Linked DNA regions of Homo sapiens: region 1 is linked to region 2. The links are contacts of gene promoters, found by promoter capture Hi-C in blood cells and fetal thymus (Javierre and others, 2016). All regions are on one chromosome and are shown on one strand. Each heading gives the region's core, a stretch centred on a gene start or on the middle of the fragment in contact. The rest is flanking DNA. Distances are from core to core; before and after follow the strand shown. Region 1 holds the start of OR9Q1 (olfactory receptor family 9 subfamily Q member 1). Region 2 holds the start of PRG3 (proteoglycan 3, pro eosinophil major basic protein 2).

Region 1 (4,067 bases), core at 318-2,817, 640 kb after region 2:
CCAAAGTGCTGGGGTTACAGGTATGAGCCACCACACCCGGCCCAAAAGCTCTTTTACAGAGTCATTGTGGTTTTAAATATCAATTCAGTTTTCAAGTGAGAAAATGGAGGCACACAGAATTCAACTGATTTGCTTAAGCTCTTATAGAGTAGGGGTGCCGAGGGACTTTGTGGGGTTTTAGTTCTCCTTCATCTCCATCTGCCTCCTCAAGCCACCTCAAACCTACAATCTAAACAAAATCAATTTGCTTTTGTTATTCCAGGGCAGCTTCATGACCATTCCCAGAGTCCCACCAGATGGCCATTCCCATGCTGTCCCTTTATTGAAATTCTGTGGTCATCGCATAGTCCATAAGCAATAGAAGCAAAAGAGTAAGCAGGTTTTACCAGAGTGTACCTTTAAAGTTTCAAAGAACCCGCACATCCACTATCTCATCAATTCACAGAATGTTCTGAGAGACAACAAGAATAGATATTATTGCTGCCTAGAGATTAAGAGCTAGAAGCTCAGAAAGCTTGATTCTCACCTTGGTTCCTGTCTGCTATAGTGGACTCTCTGGCTTGGTTTGGGTCTGGGGTCTCTGTCACATATATGGCTGGAGAAGCCTCCCACTTATTTTCTTATACCTCAGTTTCCCATTTGTTCCCATCATAGGCAGACTATATGTCAGTAGCTTTGAGGAACAGATTGTATCTGCTCAGTATTGAAGTCCTGGAATAATGAGAGAAGCGCCCAGTTAATTGATCAGATTTTATTTTAGGAATATCACCCTCCCTGGGGAGGTGGTATGATGGAAAGATGGTGGGCTCTGGAGTCAGACTGGGCTGGATTCTCATCTGGACTCTGTCACTTACTAGCTGGTTGAAGCAGGGATTTTGAGAGCCCCACATACTAGGTCCTTTCCTCTTCCCAGCTACCTGGCAACTAAGCAAACCTAGGGCTTGGTGGAACAGAGTTTGAAAACAGCTGATAGAGTACAGCTTTCCGGGAAATTTAGAATTAAATTCTGTAGCTAAGAAAAAGAAATTATATGTAGAAATCAATTCAATTTGCCTCCCACCCAAGGCCATGAGAGCAGGCTGCTCCAGATATACAAGACATCATTCCTGCAGGCATTGTCAGTCTTGTAGTCCGTTGACAGTAATTGCATGGACAACACCCAAATTGATTGACTTTTCTGTAAGTATTGTTGAACTTCCTTTTCCTTAAATTTCCTTAAAAACAGGTAGCTAGAAATGGAAAGGAAACTAAGTACGCTGCCAACGTACAATCAGGAGCATGCAGCCACCCTTTTATTACATCAGTATATATTTATTGCATGTAGACTACATGTCAGTGACTTTGGCATTAGCAACACAGTAATGAACAAACAAACAAAGGCACTATCTTCAAGGAGCTTCCTTTTGTGTGTGTGTGTGTGTGTGTGTGCGTGATGTTATAGACAAACAAATAAATATCTACCAGATGGCAATGAAGCTGTGACCCAAAAAATCAAACTGAGAAGAGGGTCAGAGAGTGAAAGGAACTGCGTTTTCAGATAGGTGGTCAGAAAGGGCCTCTCTGTTAAGGTGGCCCTTGTGCAGGGAATTGAAGAAGTGCAGGAGGATGCCACACAGAGATGGTAGAGGGAGCGAAAGGAGCAAAGGCCCTAACTTTCCCTTAATGATGTCTCCTTCCATCTTTAGTCCAGCCCAGCAATGTACATGTTATCCTTCCCGTTTGAAGATGAAGACACTGAGGCTCAGAAAGATCAAACGCCTTTCCCAAACTCACAGCTACGGCCTGACGGAGGTAGGGTCAAATGCAGCTCCACTGATTTCAGAGACGGTGCTGTTAACACAGGGGGCTGTCTGCATGTTGGAAAGTGAGATGTGCTGTTGCTGTCACGTTGCAGTGGGAGTGGGGAAGCAGGCTGTGATGAGCTAGACCCAAGAGGAATCAGAGAGCAGGTCTCCGGGCTTCATCCTGGGCATCTCCTAGCCCCGCTGTCTGTCTCATAACACCCACCCACTGCGCCTGCTCACCTCGGTTTGTTGGCTGTTTTTTTTTGAAATCATTTCCTGGATCTTAGTAAGTTTATTTTCCAGTTCCTTTCACTTTTTGGGACTAGGCCCCCAGATGCCAGGTGGAGAGAACTGAAAGAGGGAGAAATCCAGCGTTTCTCACCAGGCTTGTCACGTAGCTACACAAGCAAATAGCTACAGGAACCAAGTTTCAATTTTCGTGCATGGGCCTCAAACTGTTTTTCCATATTTGTTAGGGAAAATCTTGGCCAGGGAGCACCGTCTTTTGAGGACACCAAATTGGGCCAAGTTCCTGTGCGGCCTTTCTCCTTATTTAGTGATTGCCCCGTGTGACCCTCTCCTCTCTGGCTGACCTCTTTTTTCCTGCATGGCACTTGGTGGATAAAGTTCCCTGAACCTTGGAGAGGAAGCGGATGCTGTTAATAGCCCTGGGAGTGTGACTGTGCTTTGCAGCTCACTGGAGCCTGTGGGATATTCCTCCAGCCTTGGCGGGGCTCCGAGCTGCAGGGAAATTAACCTCAGAGTCAGGGCAGGGAGCCAGGGTTGCAGGCACGTTGTCATTGGGTGAAATGAGATGGCAGAGGAAAATGGCACGGTGTGGAGGCTTTTTTTGTCAGAAGCTCTGGGGTTTGGCTCTTCTCTGTGCCATGTAGTTCTTTGATCTTGCCCAAGTTTACTTACTGTCTCTCTGAGCCTTCAGTGATTTCAATTGCGTGAAAACCAAGACAAATAACACCTCTATATCAAGAATAGTTCATAGGATCATAGTACAATATTGTGGGGATTAAGCCAGATGGTATCAGCCCATCAGAATCTAGCCCATGGGAGGGGCTCCGTAAATGACCCTTTCTTTTTGAGACGGAGTCTTGCCCTGTCGCCAGGCTGGAGTGCAGTGGCGCGATCTCAGCTCACTGCAACCTCCGCCTCCCGGGTTCAAGAGATTCTCCTGCCTCAGCCTCCTGAGTAGCTGGGGTGCCCGCCGTGCTACTATAGGGTGTGTCCTACAGGCGCACGCCACCATGACCAGCTACTTTTTGTATTTTTGGTAGAGACGGGGTTTCACCGTGTTGGCCAGGATGGTCTTGATTTCTTGACCTTGTGATCCGCCCGCTCAGCCTCCCAAGGTGTTGGGATTGCAGGCGTGAGCCACTGCGCCCGGCCTCCTTTCTCCCTTTTTGGAGAGAAGCTCATCTTCCTACCAACACATGACCCGAAGACGTGTTGGGGCAGGGGGGAAGAGGAGTAGAATTTGGATGCTCTGGAACTCTCGCTCAGAAAGAGTTTCTCATTAGACTTGTCTCTGATGACTTCAATGATTCCATCAGATATTCATTCCGTTGGGTTAGGCATTGCCTCCCATCTAGGTTGCTTTCATTTGATTTCAGTTAGAAGGTGGTGGAGCTGAGATTTGAAGGCATCAGGTGGTCTAATGCCTGAATGTAGCCTTAACCACTGTGCTCTCCTGACTCTCTCCGTGGACCTCACAACCTCTTCTAACAATTCCTCTGGGCATATTACCTACTTCCACCTGTCTCTCCCCTGGCTTGCTGGGGTGCCTCCCCCTCCCTCTACTGCACTTGGTTTTGTCAGTTAAGGATTGCCTTCTTTCCACCGTCCCCCACCCTCAGTGTGATTTAATTGGGAAATTGTTTCTTGATCTTACCTGTCCTGTCTTCCTTGTATGCCAACTTCACTGCCCCCTACTTTGTTCTACCAGACACATTGCAATTAGCTCATCACATCTCTGTTCTAACCCTTGAGTACTTCTCTATCTTTCCTAAAAGACACAGTTCTTAAAAGGCAGGACTTGCAACTCATTTTGGGTTAGAGGCCTGATGCCTGGTACCATGCCTAGAACTCAGGGTCTCCTTGATGAATGCTTGAATGAGGAACTGGCAGGCATAGAACTGTGAGTAAACCACTTCACTGAGTTAACAAATTAATAGGTTCAAAAATTTCCAGGAGTTAGATAGTTGTGAAATTCTGTCTCTCAACCTTTTTATTTTTTCCCAACTTTTATATTCAATGGTACATGTGCAGGCT
Region 2 (3,598 bases), core at 730-3,229:
GCTAATAAAAGGCAGAACCAGAATTTAACACAGGCGTTTCTAACACCAAAGCCTTTTGTTTAAATCGGTGGTTCTCCCCAGACCAACAATATCATCATCACCTGGGGATTTGTTGTAAATGCAAATTCTCAGGCTTCACCTCAGCCCTCCTAAATCAGAAGTCGTGCAGGTGAGGCCCAGAAAGCTGTGTTTTAACAACAACTCCAGGTGATTCTGATGCATGCGAGGCTTTGAGAACCACTAGCCTAAATGAATAGGGAACAGAAGACTGAATGTACTCTCTTTTCCCCCAGGTCCTCCGCAGTAGCCTCCCTACTACTTACCTGAGCTTCTGCAAAAGTTTTAGGAGTCCGCACCAATAGGTAGCGGCAGATCTTGCACCTTGGACTTCCCTGCACTTCAACAATGTCTTCTTCCCTGGGGCACTGGAAGTCCTTGTCTAAGGCAGCTGGGTCCGACTCCATGGCTTCCTCATCCTCAAAGTTGTCTTGACAGGCAGAAGCCTTGACCTCCTCTCCCTCTGCCTGAATCACCTCCTCCGTCAGAGCCAAGTCTCTCTCCTGCTCCTTTGAACTATCCAGATCCTGGCCTAGGTCTGCCTGTGTCTCTAGGCTCTCCAGATGGGGGGCATCATTCTCTGGGAAGAAGAGGTAACCTGCCATCAGGTCAAGAGCTTCCTAGTTCCAGCACCGTGGACAGCTCCAGCAACGTCGCTCGAGCTTTCCTAGGAATTCCACCTGAAGACAAGACTGGAGGATTTCCTTGGTGTTAGGTAAGGAGAGATCTCTCGGGTCACACCCACAAATGGACAAGAACCTGACTTCTGGCCGACACCACGAGTGTGTGTTTTGAAGGTGGGAGAAAGCACGTGTGAGAAGCCTGGGGCAGTCACCAGCCCTTCATCTTAACAGGTGGGTGGTTTTTCCTTCTGAAAGTTCAGGTTACAGTTTGCCGGGTGCGGTGGCTCACGCCTGTAATCCCAGCACTTTGGGAGGCCGGGGCGGGCGAATCACAAGGTTAGGAGTTTGAGACCAGCCTGGCAAATATGGTGAAACCCCATCTCTACTAAAAATACAAAGATTAGCCAGGCGTGGTGGCATGTGCCTGTAGTCCCAGCTACTCAGGAGGCTGAGGCAGAAGAATTGCTTGAACCCGGGAGGCGGAGTTTGTGGTGAGCCGAGATCGCGCCACTGCACTCCAGCCTGGGCAACAGAGCGAGACTCCGTCTCAAAACAAAACAAAAAACAAACAAAAAAAAAAACAAAAACAACAACAACAAAAAAAAATCAAACAAAAAAGAGAAAGTTCCAGGTTACAGTTCTGAGTCCAAGTGATATCTTACCGGAGATGAGCTGTATCAGCTAAAGAGGGAAGGCTGTGGTCCTGGCCTCATGAGTGCAAATAAAAGCGGGGGGAGGGGAGTGTAGGAAAAAGGAAAAAAGGGAAAGACGCATGAGGAGGGAAGGGAGAGACTTACCCAGATGAAGAGCAGAAACTGTTCCCAGCAGGAGAAAGGGCAGGAGCAAGAGGCATTGCATATCTACTGTCTTTTAGCGAGGACACTACTCCACCGTCCTTCTTGGGGCTGTCTTTGTGTGTCTAGTATAGCCCCTGGCACATAGTATAGAGGGAATATTTGTTTAATTGTTTGATTAAAGAGCAAACAAGATTGCTTTCTCCTCTTGCCATGAACAGACCCTGAGCTGGAGAGTCTAGAAAAGGAATGGTGGGAGGGATAACTCAGGTACCAAATTTCATTTGTCTTCCAGTCTCCGTTGCTGCTCTCCAGTATCACCCTTAGCCCAGACTCCTGCCCCTGCGGGGACAGGTCTGCTTAGCTATGATGTTCCTAAGGACAGGCCTCCTACGTGTTTGCCCTATGAGGTGCTGCTTCTTCCCAGGGCCTACACTGGTCCTGCCTGGGCAGCCAGAAAAGAACTCACCTTCCAAGAGTCTGAGACCTCCACTCTCAGTGCCTCTGGCTTCAGGGGCCAGAAGCAGCCTTTATACTGGGTTTTTGGGGAAGTGGGAAGAGGCCAGAATGATTGCTCCAGGACAGAGTGGGGGACAAAGGAGCTGATAATGAAGTTTGCTCAGTCTTCTCAACCCTGTGCCCTGCTCTCTGCTGGGACTGCAGGGACCTGCCTCCTGGGGCCTACTGCCTTGTTTGGGTACCCCACACCCTGGTTTGCTTCAGAAGGCCCTAGATGTTATGTCCATTGTCCAGGCATAATTATTATTTATGCCCCCTAAAATGCCCCAGTCTGAACAACACGCCTTAACTCCAGGAGTAGCCTCCTGCTGGTGGAATCCCAGAGAGTGAAGTGGAGATCCCAGGGAGCTGGTGGGAGACAATGGGGGGAAGAAACAAGAGGGGAAAGGGAGGTTCAGTGCTCCCAAGCTCTCACCCATCCTAGGGGCATAGTGTGCAACACACCCCTCACCCTCATCTCCGCATCATCTCCACCAGGTACCACCCCTACTTCACAGAGGCAAAATGTGAGATTCAGAGAAAGAGAGAAGGCAACTTGCCAAGGTTCCATGGGAAGTGGAAGAACTGGAATTTCTAAGTCTTTTTGACTCCAAAACCTTCTCTCTTTCTTTCCTCTCTCTCTTTTTTCTCTCCCTTCCTCTTTCTCATCTTTTTTTTTTTTCTTTTTGAGACGGAGTCTTGCTCTGTCGCCCAGGCTGGAGTGCAATGGCAAGATTTTGGCTCACTGCAAGCTCCACCTCCCGGGTTCAAGCGCTTCTCCTGCCTCAGCCTCCCAAGTAGCTGGCTAATTTTTTGTATTTTTAGTAGAGATGGGGTTTCACTATGCTGGCCAGGCTGGTCTTGAACTCCTGACCTCGTGATCCACCCACTTCGGCCTCCCAAAATGCTGGGATTACAGGCATGAGCCACTGTGCCTGTCCTCATCTTTTTTTTTTTTAAGAGACAAAATCTTGCTCTGTCACCCAGGCTGGAGTGCAGTGCTGCGATGATAGTTCACTGTAACCCTGAATTCCTGGGCTCAAGTAATCCTCCTGCCACAGCCTCCTGAGTCACAGGGATTACAGGCACAAGCTTTCTCATCTTTAATGTGTGAAAAATCTACATCCTTTCTTCTGTGCTGTGGATCTAGATCAAGGTTCCTCAACTTTGTGCTATTAATATGTGAGGTCAAATAACTCTTTATTGTGGAGGGGCTGTCCTGGGCGTTGTAGAAAGTTTAATGGTCCCTCTGGTCTCTACTCACCAGATGTCAGTAGCCCCTCTCCCCACCCCCGCAGATGATCAAAAATGTCTCCACATGTTTCCAAATGTCCTCTGGGGAGAAAAATGGCCCCAGTTGAGGATCTCTGATCTAGGATATGCCACCTTGCCCAACCTCAAGGCATAGCTTCAGGGCTGGCAAACAGGCAGCATGAAAAGCTCCATACAGAGTCTCTCCAGCACTCTGTAGATCATCCTCTCCAACCAACACTCCCCTCCTCACCTCCCATCTCCCACCAGTCTTCTGTCACCCCAGGGTCTGGACTAGAATCAGGCAGGGGAGGCTCTCAACTCAGACACACTAAGAAATTAAGGGGACACTAAGAAATTTACTATTCAAGATAA

What was found. Contacts are between HindIII fragments. The CHiCAGO score rates a contact against its expected background, and 5 or more counts as called.
Region 1: the fragment with the promoter of OR9Q1 here is called in contact with the fragment with the promoter of PRG3 in region 2 in 2 of 17 cell types (non-activated CD4 T cells and fetal thymus); the score reaches 6.8 in non-activated CD4 T cells.

What each region holds. Positions count from the first base shown.
Region 1 is chr11:58,022,314-58,026,380 of GRCh38, forward strand. It overlaps OR9Q1 (olfactory receptor family 9 subfamily Q member 1), which reads left to right and starts at 1,568. Exons shown (of 3, transcript NM_001005212.4): 1 at 1,568-1,791. LOC107984331 (a long non-coding RNA gene) reads right to left here and starts at 2,106. Exons shown (of 3, transcript XR_001748218.1): 1 at 1,774-2,106; 2 at 527-711. The HindIII fragment of the contact is 4,257 bases long and covers 513-4,067 here.
Region 2 is chr11:57,379,171-57,382,768 of GRCh38, forward strand. It overlaps PRG3 (proteoglycan 3, pro eosinophil major basic protein 2), which reads right to left and starts at 1,980. Exons shown (of 6, transcript NM_006093.4): 1 at 1,944-1,980; 2 at 1,478-1,611; 3 at 324-637. The coding sequence starts at 1,538. RefSeq lists an enhancer at 169-1,368. The HindIII fragment of the contact is 3,099 bases long and covers 1-3,062 here.